3 separate regions of the Homo sapiens genome follow, and regions 2 and 3 are each linked to region 1. The links are contacts of gene promoters, found by promoter capture Hi-C in blood cells and fetal thymus (Javierre and others, 2016). All regions are on one chromosome and are shown on one strand. Each heading gives the region's core, a stretch centred on a gene start or on the middle of the fragment in contact. The rest is flanking DNA. Distances are from core to core; before and after follow the strand shown. Region 1 holds the start of CD1C (CD1c molecule). Region 2 has its middle 14 kb from the start of AIM2. Region 3 overlaps PYHIN1 (pyrin and HIN domain family member 1).

The links. The method cuts DNA at HindIII sites, captures the fragments that hold promoters and counts their contacts. A CHiCAGO score of 5 or more calls a contact.
Region 2: a fragment that was not itself captured here is called in contact with the fragment with the promoter of CD1C in region 1 in 1 of 17 cell types (erythroblasts); the score reaches 5.2 in erythroblasts.
Region 3: a contact is called between a fragment that was not itself captured here and the fragment with the promoter of CD1C in region 1, in 1 of 17 cell types (neutrophils). The highest score is 5.8, in neutrophils.

The regions. Positions count from the first base shown.
Region 1 is chr1:158,287,896-158,291,580 of GRCh38, reverse strand. CD1C (CD1c molecule) reads right to left here and starts at 1,658. Exons shown (of 6, transcript NM_001765.3): 1 at 1,456-1,658; 2 at 181-447. The coding sequence starts at 1,516. It also overlaps a transcript of CD1B not described here. The HindIII fragment of the contact is 9,220 bases long and covers 1-3,685 here.
Region 2 is chr1:159,088,616-159,092,300 of GRCh38, reverse strand. It overlaps a transcript of AIM2 not described here. Among named protein-coding and RNA genes, the nearest start is that of AIM2, 14 kb to the right of the region's middle. The HindIII fragment of the contact is 1,495 bases long and covers 1,021-2,515 here.
Region 3 is chr1:158,960,343-158,964,027 of GRCh38, reverse strand. The region is part of intron 7 of PYHIN1 (pyrin and HIN domain family member 1); the gene reads right to left. Among named protein-coding and RNA genes, the nearest start is that of PYHIN1, 31 kb to the right of the region's middle. The HindIII fragment of the contact is 4,341 bases long and covers 1-3,685 here.

The sequences.
Region 1 (3,685 bases), core at 409-2,908:
AATAGCAAGAGCCTAGGAAATTTGAGGGAGTCAACATCAGGAATATCCCTTAAAAGGTTCATCTATGCAGAATTTTATGGTGGGATGGGATAATGGGAAATGGCCCAAAAATTAGTAGAGAATATTTCCCTGAAATAGAACATTCTAAAGAACTCCCATAATTTAGATGATTGAACTTACATTTCGAGTAATCTTGACTTGCATGGTCTTGAATCTCCCGAGTTAATCCAAAGAGGTAGAAACGAAATAACAACTCTAGGTCTGACAACTCTTCATTGCTGAAGTTGCCCTTGGACCAGTTATGCAGGAAAATTATTGTGCCTGATTCACTGTCCCAGCCATGAGTCTGCAACTCGTCCAGCCATCCTGAGCCCTGACCTCGTGCCCAGGATTGGTTGACAAATGAGAAGATCTGGATGACATGGAAGGAGACGTGTTCCTGGGATGCTTTTGGTGGAAGAAGGGCAAGTAGTGTAAGGAAAAAAAAAAAAAGAGAGGCAAGGAAAATGGAGAGAAAATGGAAGGTGAACCAGTTACCACAGAGAAACATTAATGACTACTTTAGCTATACCATTTTCCTTACACAGAGCCCCATGCTCTGCCACCATCCTCTAAAAGAGTAAACTGGACCTGGAGAGAGGTATGCTCAAATGGCAACCATTCTGGCTTCTTCATTGATCCATCTTGGGAAAGCCCATCATGCTCAACCCAGATACATGTAACCTTGCAGCTGACAGAGATGTTCATACTATCTGCATTGTCACCACCGGGGAGGAGAAGAACTAGCAGCGGAAACTACAGAAACAGCATGTCATTTGCAGTTGTTTCCTTCTCTCAGAAAAGCCATTTGCTGATCTCTGTTCTTAGCAAACTTATCCCTCTACATCTATATTCTGACTTCCTTCTACCAACAGACAATCTTCCCCATCAGCCACTGACAGCAACTAAGACAATCTGCTTCCCTTAACCTTAGGCCTCCTACTCAATCTCTCATTTCCCCATCTGCTCTGAACTAAAGTTACTCTCTTCCCTTAGGATTTTAGCTGCTCTCCCACTAAGCTCCATCTTATCTACTTCCCTTCCTCAACTGCCTTAGACAAAGTGGTGCGTGGCATTGAAAGGTTGCTTCATCCCTCTGGACCTTGCGTGTCATTTGTAACATAAAAAGGAGAAACCACATCATTTTCCTGGGCCCTGATTGTTTTAACGGAAAATGGAGAGGAAATGGAAATTGAACCAGTTACCACAGAGAAACATTAATGACTACTTTAGCTATAACATTTTCCTTACACAGAGCCCATGCTCTGCCACCATCCTCCAAAAGAGTAAACTGGACCTGGAGACAGGTATGCTCAGATGGCAAGCATTCTGGCATCTCTATTGATCCATCTCGGGAAAGCCCAGCACACTCTACCCAGATACATGTAACCTTGCAGCTGACAGCGATGTTCTTACCGTCTGCATTGTCACCACCTGGGAGAAGAAGAGCTAGCAGCAGAAACTGCAGAAACAGCATGTCATTTGCAGATGTTTCTTTCTCTCAGAAAAGCTGTTTGCTGATCTCTGTTCTTAGCAAACTTATCCCTCTGTACCTATATTCTGACTTCCTTCTACCAACAATCTTCCCCATCAGCCGCTGACAGCAACTAAGAAGATCTGCTTCCCTCAACCTTGGTCCTCCTACTCAATCTCTCATTTCCCCACCTGCTCTGAACTAAAGTTATTCTCTTCTCTCAGGATTCCAGCTGCTCTGCCACTAAGCTCCATTATATCTACTTCCCTTCCTCAACTGCCTTAGACAAAGTGGTGTATGGCATTGAAAGAAAGGTCATTTTGTCCCTCTGGATTTTGCATGTCATTTGTAAGATAAAAAGGAGAAACCATGTCATTTTTTCAGTTCCTGCTTGTTTTAATAGATCACAGTTCTTCCAGTTTCTCCACTTAACTTTGCCTCCACTCTCCATAGTGTCCCCTCTTCTCATCACTCCATTCTTTCTTTCCCCCTTTTGAATGTCCTCAAAGTTTTCTCTTTCCAATTTCACCTCTTTTCACCCATCTTTCTTATTTCCTCATTCTCACTGATTCTTTTATAAATTGGAGACGTTGCTTTTTACATCTTCCAAGATTTCCCTGCACAATTATATAAACTACAGTCCACTCTACATTATCCTTAGAGATTAAATTGCAGCCATTCAGAATGCATAGGACCATAACAAATATAAAGAAGCCCTTCTACTGCATTTAATCTGTATAGTCATTCACTAAAAAATTACATAGTACATGGTTGATACCAGTGTCTTACTAGGCATATAAACACACAGAGGTTAACAATGTAATCTCTTCTATCAAAGAGTTTTAAACTGCAGATGTTTAAACAAAAAATTAAAATGCATTGTGATTTTAATTTCAATGTATAGAATCCCAGATACAAATCTACTTAGAACTATATTCTCTAGAGCAGCATTTTGACTGACTAACCCCCTGGGAAGTTCATAATTTGAAGTCCTGGAAGAACAGCATGCATCTCAACTAAATACTGAAAATTCTGTACAGTGTGGAATGGTATACGATTGTGATAGTCAGAACATGCAGCTTTTCAAGAGGACTCATACATGGGGAGACCACAAAAATCCAAATTTAAGTTGTTTTGTGATCTGACCAAAACACATTGTATAAAAAGGGCAGCATTTGTCAATGTTTGATTTAAGTAGTTTATATGAAGTATTCAGTGACTTATCAGTGACCCTGGCTGGTTAATATGTGTAAATACATGAACACAGTTTTTTTGAGATCCAGGAAATACATTTATTATTATAGTGTTTCTTAAATCATATTAATTATTCACTGAATGCATTGGAGCAGTCACTTAAAATCTGGGCATGAATTTGTGCTAGGCACAATGACTCATGCCTGTAATCCCAGCACTTTGGGAGACCAAGGTGGGAAGATCACTTGAGCCCAGGAGTTTGAGACCAGCCTGGGCAACAAAGTTAGACCTCATCTCGATAAAAAAATTAAAAAGTTGGCCAAATGTGGTGGCACATGCCTGTAGTCCCAGCTAAATGGGAGGCAGAGGCAGGAAGATCTTTTGAGCCCTGAAAGTCAGGGCTGTAGTGAGCCATGTTCATGTCACTGTACTCCAGCCTGGGTAACAGAGCAAGACCGTGCCTTAAAAAGGAAAATCCCATTTGTAACATTGTTTCTGTTTTAAATTTATATTTATTCTATGTATTTACTGTGTACAACATGATACTTTGATATATACACTATTTCTTAGGTTTGTCAACGTTAATAGTGAGGCCAGAAGTCATTCTCAATGAGCTCTTCCTATCATGGCCACAGATATGTGGCAATTTCTATGAACTATAATATCTTTAAGAGCAATACCCAGTTCAAATCCTACCCAAATCATTCATAAGCACTAGGTGTTATCTTTGCTCATCTTGTGCTGTTAATGGCAAATACTTGGTTTGTGGTTTTAGAAAACAATAGTAGATACCACATTATGTGTTTATTCACATTTTTTTCCATGTTCCTACAGGAAAGATGCAACTGTCCTATTTCCTAATAGTTGGGTTAAGGTCATGGACTGAGTTCTGGGCAATGGAATGTGTGGTGTTGGAAGCATTAGCCAGCTCCAGTCCTGACCACTGAAAATATCACATCTGATCATCTTACCCTGTGG
Region 2 (3,685 bases), core at 519-3,018, 800 kb before region 1:
ACATATTATGTAGTAACTTAATTGTTTTCAGCTTATGCAACATGGTGAATCATTTCCTGAGTCACTTTGGTGGTTAGTCTCTTAGTTTTGCATGTTCAGATAATATTTTCATGTTTTACTGCTAAAATTGTGAATAGTCATTTATTTAAATGAGTTTATATATTTGTTTCCTACAGCAAATATCAGGAATTAGAATTGTTAGGTTATAATTGCCCTCTTTTTTCAATAATTTTTAATTCATGATAAGATGACTCACCTAAGGATTTCACTTAATTGTTTTTTTCCTTAATTTGAACATTAGAAATAGGACTATGTTTAGGGTGTGTGTGCCCTTGGGCAATCACCCTCTGTTTCCTGTGGCCCTGCTACATTGCTAACTTCAGTGGATACCATTTACTTTCTGTTTTGTGTATCCTTGAGGCCCCTTTCATGCTAGAATATTTTTATAGGTGACAGCAGTTTAAGCATCCACATTCTAAGCAGGCCCTTTTCAATAGAGAGGGACGAAGCCACCATTTTTGCTTTGGCAATTGCTGGTGTGTCAGTGAACACACACACACTCATAACATTTGTTACCACATCCTTTATACATCACCCCCTAAGTTACTCTCCAAATACCTTCCCCCAAGGGCATCCAGAGGGCAGGACTTCAGCTGGCTGCCTTGATTCATCCCATCCTACAGATTGCTGTCAACACAAGAGATGATCAGGATAATGTAACGATTGCACTTTGTAAGTATATAATTTTGTTCATTGTCACCAGTTACATGCTGGCCATCCTCAAGCATATAAGATAGTCTTGTAACTTGTGAATCTTCAGAAATCAGAGGAGTTTCTCCTCCTCTTCACTGCTGACAGTAGTCAAAAGGGACCCAGCCTAGAATAAGTAAAGGGAAAGGCAGAACCTGCCAAAGCACGTCGTGACAAGCATGTCATTGTGGACTGACTCTACCCAGCATTTTTTCAGTGGTTGTAATGCCACACATGGCTTTAAGGTATTAATAGGATTGGACACAAGCTTTTCTGTCTTCTACACTTATAAGACCAAGAATGGCTAAATATAAAAAATGTAACCTTTATCCTATCATTCTCTTTTCTAGCTGTATTATTTGTTACTTTATTAAGTAATGTTTAAAGTTATTTGTATTAATTATTTTTACCATTCTCAGGACCATACAAGCCAATTTCTACAAGACTAGCATTAGGATTGAGGTTTCTCATTTAATGGTGATTCATCTTTCCCACATACAGCCTGCCCCTTCATTCTGATGTTTCCATTTCAGCAAGAGACTGAAAGGGAAAGGAGGTCAATAGGAAGTTACTCAGGAAGAAGAATACCAGGAGGGAGTGATGGTGCTGAACACAAGGGAGCCATTTGAGGTGGAATCTTTGAAACTCAGACACTTTATGCTAATGTGGTAGAGGTTGCTTAGGGAAAGTCTTTAGCATCAATGTAAAAGACAATTTTAACTCAAAGAACGATCAAAAATTATTTCCCTGATGGTTTGCTAGAGTCAAAACATGCCTTACACATGTTTGATGCTGACTCTGACAGAGGGATCTGTGTCTCCAGTTACCATGTCAGGAGACTAGACAAACAGCTCATGGTAAAAAATAAAAGACAAATGAATAACCTCCCAAACACAACCTTGTAGGAAAAATAGTAAGAGTTTTCACCTTAAGGTAAAGTTTTGGACTTGGTCTGAAGTGTCCATAGAAGGCATTTAAATAAACATTTTTATTTAGAGATAGAAACAAAAACAAAAATTGAAAGGCATGGAATTTTAGTGGCGTGATGACAATTACAATGACAAAATTATGAAATGTGAAGCAGTCACACGCTTTCTAGCAGTATGCGAGAGAGACTGATTCATGGACTTTAAATTCATGTATTATTTTTACATTCTGGTATATTTTTGCACTTTATAGTCACATCTTTTTCTGGTGTATGTATCTTTACACTGCATTCCTGCACTTTATTTAAAGTGACAGTATTTGTGAATATGACTGAAGTTAAGAGTTGAATGTTGTCTTATGTTGGGTCCCCAAGAAACAGACTGTTAGATTTGCCTGCAAGAAGTTTATTAGAGGGTGCTCTTGGGAACACCTATAAAGGAGAGAGGGAAACTGGGTTGGGCGGAGGGAGAAGTTAAATTGCAGTGAGGGCTGCAGCCAATCCCCCTGGGAACCCTAGAGCTGGGATGGCCTCTAGTTATGCCTAAGTGAGGCAAGAAGGCTGTGACCTTGAACCTCCTCATAGACCCTAAATCCTTGGCTTCAGGCTTTCTCCATGGAAGGATGCAACCTTGGGGAAGGCAGTTCCCTTCAGCATAGGGCAGTCCTGGAACACAGACTCAGGTGTCAGCTGTAACACTTCTAGCAGCTGGGAAAATAGGCACTTTGGTTGTCTGGTTGAAGGGTCTAGGGTCCAGTTACTGAAAACAAATAGTTACTGAACTAAAAACCGATAGAATAGGTAGGGCAGAGATGAAAGAGCAGTGATTTATGGAAAGCTTAGAAGAATAACTTCGTCGTAGGAAACCATGTGTATATTCTTATGATTGTGTGATTCTGGGACTCAGGGTACATGTTTTGAGTGGCCATTTTTGTTTTGACTGGTACATAATTTAAAGAACTAAGCAGAGTGATCCTGTGTTTGTTTGTTTGGTTTTGCATTCAGCTATCCTGAGAGTAAAGGAGTGAAACTAGGAAAGAAACTTCTTAAGGGAGAACCAGATAGTGAAACTAAGCAGGGGAGCCTGTAGGTAAGGGGGTTGAACAAACAATCCAACACAGGGGCTTCTTTAAGCAAGTGACATGCTTTATGTCTACCTTCTGTGCTTCTATCCTGATCTACCTTGGTTTTTATCCTTTTGGTTATGGAGTTGAACTTCTTCATCTTGCCACCAGGAGGCAGTGTTTTTTAGTGCTTAGGAGGATGTGCTTTGGCTACACCAGATGAAGTTCAAATCTTATTTCTACCATTCACTAATTGTATGACCTTAGTCCATTCACAAACACCGCTAAGCCTCTATTTTCTCATCTATAAAATAAGAATAATGACGGTACTCACTTTGCAGGATTGTTAGGAATATTAAATTGAAATAATGCTTATAAGCACCTAGGTCAGAAGCTCACAGCTCGTCTCACTTGCCAGAAATGGTCTCTTTTTCCATCTCATACAAATGACAGTCCTTAACCAAGTTTTCTTAAGAAATTCGTCAGTGTTTTCTTTGAATAAAGTATGAAGGAGGGAAGTAAGATGTAATGGGTTTGGTGATGAACTAAGTTAAAATGTGAAAATGGAGATACCTGTGAACACAGCTGCTCTTAGTCATTGTTTCAGTCCATTTTGTGTTGCTTATAACAGAATACCTGAAACTGGGTAATTTATAAAGAAACAAAATGTATTTTTTACAGTTCTCGAGGCCGAGAAGTTCAAGGTTGAGGAGCCCATCTGGTGAGGGCCTTCTTGCTTGTGGGGACTCTGCAGAGTCCCCAGGCAGCAGAGAGCATCACATGGAGAGGCAGCTTAGTGAGCTAGCTCAGGTCTCTCTTCCTCTTCTTTTAAAGCCACAAGCCCCACCCCATCATAAGCTATTAGTCCATTAAGCCATTAATCCATTCATGAGAGCAGAACCCTCACGACTCATCACCTCTTAAAGACCCCACCTGTCAATATTAC
Region 3 (3,685 bases), core at 523-3,022, 670 kb before region 1:
ATGGCCATTTTTTCTATCAGCTCCTGTATCATTTTATTGAAACCCTTAGATTTCTTGAGCTGAGTTTTAACTTTCTCTTGAATGTCAATTATCTTAATTCCTACCCATATTCTGAATTCTATTTCTGTCATTTCAGCCATTTCAGCCTGGTTAAGAACCCTTGCTGGGGAACTAGTGCAATCTTTTGGAGGAAACAAGACACTCTGGCTTTCTGAATTGCCAGAGTTCTTGCACTGTTTCTTTTGAGTAGTTAGAAACCTTCTTTCCTGGATGTTGTTAGAGAGCTGAGGCTTTGTGCAGGGTTTTAATTTCTAGCTAAATTCTTGTCCATGGTTACACAGGGGTCTATATTAGCAAAATATTTTTGGTGTTGAAGTTTTGGGCTGTGATCCAGTAGGTGGTGCTTAAGTGTATTGGCCAGTAGGTAGGCTCTTGCTCTGCCATATGCAGGGCATGCTCCCTCTCAGTGCTCTGAAAGTGTGGGCTCCTTTCCCACTTGAGTACTGGCTCCAGATCTTGGCTTGGCACACTGCAGCTCTGGGATGAGCTCAGATTTTATGTTCCCTCGCCAGCTTGAAGGCTGCAGCAGAAGAAACCTTAGCAGTGGTTATGGCAGAGGGCCTTTCACTTGACTCTTGGTGGTCCACCCCAGAGAAACGAGGAGCTGCTATCAGCCAGTGCAATTGGCCAAAGATGGGGCAGCTGTGCTGTGGGCCCAAGCCAGAGGGTCCCGGTTTGGTGAAGAGCAGGGCTACGGGTGGGTCACAAGAGAGATAGACTGAGTTCTTCTCCTTAGGGCAACTGCAGTTCCTTCCCCAGTCTGAAGGCAGCAGGGCAGTACCACTGCAGCAGCAGTGGCAGAGGGGCTTTTGGTTGCCTCTGGGAGCTGCACCTCAGAGAGATGCAGAGCCGCTGCTACTGGGAATGTTCAGCTAGAGAATGGGAAGTTACATTGCTGGCCACAACTAGGGGCTCAGCTCGTTGAGGAGTGGGGCACTGAGGATTCATAGGGAGGAGGGACTGTGCTTTGCTGCCTGTATGGTGACTGTGGTGTGCTGGAAGCGCAGGTGAAACTCTCGGGGTCTTTGTTTCTTCCTTGAACTAAGGGGATCAGGGGCAGAACCACTGCTGTGGCCGTTGCAGTGGGGCTGTCAGTTGCCTCTGGGACCCCCTCCCCAGGGAAACACAGAGTTACTAGCAGACCGTATGCTTAGCCATGGGTGGGGCAGCTGTTTTGCAGTTCAAAGCCAGGAGCCCTGTCTGATGAAGAGTAGGGCTGGGAGCTCATAGGGAAGAGAGACTGGACTCCTCTCCAATGCTCGCTGCTGTGTGCTGGAGGTGCCAGTGTAGTGACCAGGCCCTTTGTTTCTTTCCCAGCTCGAGAGCAGTTAGGGCAGTGCCACTGCAGCTGCAATGGTGGAGGAGTTGTGGGTTGTCTCTGAGATTTTCTCCTGAGACAAATGCAAAGCTGCTTTCCACTGAAGTGTTCAGGAGGGGGCAGGGTAATTGTGTTCGAGTCCTAGGCCTGAAGGCCCCACCCAGTGAGGAGAAATGTGAACAGGGACCCACGGATACAACGGTCCGATCACTTCTCCGTGGGGTGGCTCCAGTGTGTTGGGGATCCGCCCATCACTAATCACTGCCCATCCTTCAGAACCTGAAGGCAACTGGTGCAAGGGCTGCAAGACAGAAAAAATGGCAGCCTACCTTTCCCTCTAGGAGCTCCATCCCAGGGAAGTATAGAGATGCTATAGTCACCAAAGCCCAGGTAGGGAGTAACTGGAGTCTGAAGTCAGGAGGTCCTGCCCAGTGAGGAGAACTGGCATCGGGAATCCACGTATAAAACAGTCTGGCCACTTTTTCATGAGGCATCTGTGCTGTGCTGGGGATCCAGCCAGTCCCTAATCACCACACACTCTCCAGGGCCTGAAGGCAGCCGTGACAATGGCTGTGAAACAGCAAAAATGGTGGGCTTCCTCTCCCTCTGGGGGCTCCAACCCAGGGAAGTGCAGAGCTGCTACCGGCCCATGAGCTCAGGCAGGGGGGTGGCTGGAGTACTAGGCTAGTGGACTTTATCCTGTGAGGTGCAGTGGAGGCGAGGCTTAGAGTCCAGTGCTGCTTAGTCCCCTGGATTCAGCTCCTTTTCTGAAGGCCTGTGAGGCAGCCTGACCTCCCCTATTGCCAGAGCTGCAGCCGCTAATTCCAGGATACTTGGATCCAAGGCTCCAAGGGTTCCTTGTATGCCTGAGTGGTGGCTCTGCCCAGGCTCCACTTAGCTTTCCCTCTCAATCTGAAGGCTCCAGTGGGGTGGTCTCATAGGGGTATCTCCTGAGCCCAGGGTGGCAAAGGTCCGTGGCAGAAGTATGGGTCCCCAGAGACTCTCACTCACTCACCATTTCCCTGCAGTGGAGAAGCCTCCTCTGGCTCCGTGCCATTCCCAGGTGAGCAATTGTCTTGTCTCACTCTTCTCTATTCTCCATGGGTAAAGTTGTTTTCTCGGTGGATCTCAATGGTCCACCTGGATGTTCCAGTTGAAGATCTAGCATTTACTTGCTACTCTCTTCTCTCTACAAGAGTGGTACACACTACCTGTTTCTAGCTAGTCATCTTGGCCCTCAAAAGCAGTATCTTAAATGAAGATTTAACCTCTCATTTCCTCAGTATTTAGAAATATGAAATGTGACTAATAATGACATCATCAAGTTAGTGTAAGGAAGAACAAATAAGAAAAGATACATAAAGTACATATAATTTACATTTAGCACACTCACTATCTTTGTGAACTTGGGGAATATTTTTAAATCCTATGTATTTCAGTTTTCTCTTATGTATAAGGCTGTGAGTAGCATTCTCATGACTGTGTTATGAAAAAGAGATGTGATAATATACATATACATATAGAATGCAGGTTTTAAAAACCAGTACCCTGTAAATACTCAGAAAGTAGAATATCATTTATGATTGGTATCATACTCATTCTGCAGGGATTTGGATGTCTACTCTGATCACTTATGTCTCATACTCCCTGTTTACCTTTCTCATGGAAACCCTAGATCAAATTGGTATAGAAAGTATTTTATTAAAGAAACTTCTTTATTCATATCTACCACTTATTGACAAAAACATCTTGAGTTACTATCTTCTCAAAAACAGCCAAATAAAACAGTCCATCACAATGGTGGAATTTAGATGAGAAAATATATACTCTGGTTGACTAGTATTTTAAATTATTAAAAAAATTTTCTCAGAGTAATTCTTTTCCTTACCATCCCTGGTCCTGATTCATGTCAATTTGAGTTTTTGGCTTTAGGTTAACATAACATAAGACATCAATGATAAGAATAGGCTGCTTCTTGTTTTAAGTCCCAATCCATATAGAACCTATATCAGACAAAATCTTTTGGCAAACCCATGATGAGTGGCACAAGACTTTCCTGCTCACCTAGTGAGCCATAAGTAAGTAGTTGGATACTCTTTTTTTCGGGTGGTAGTTGGACACCCAAGAATAAATGGCTGCATGATGTGTTTAGGTATTTGAGGCCATAAAGGCATAATATCCTCCTGGGATTGCTGTGCTCTACAGATGTTCATGTACAGCAGAATAATCTGTACAGCTTTAGCAAGGGTTGTGATTAAGATTTTGGCAGGTAAGATTTAGAAATTCCTACATAATCCCATTCAATCA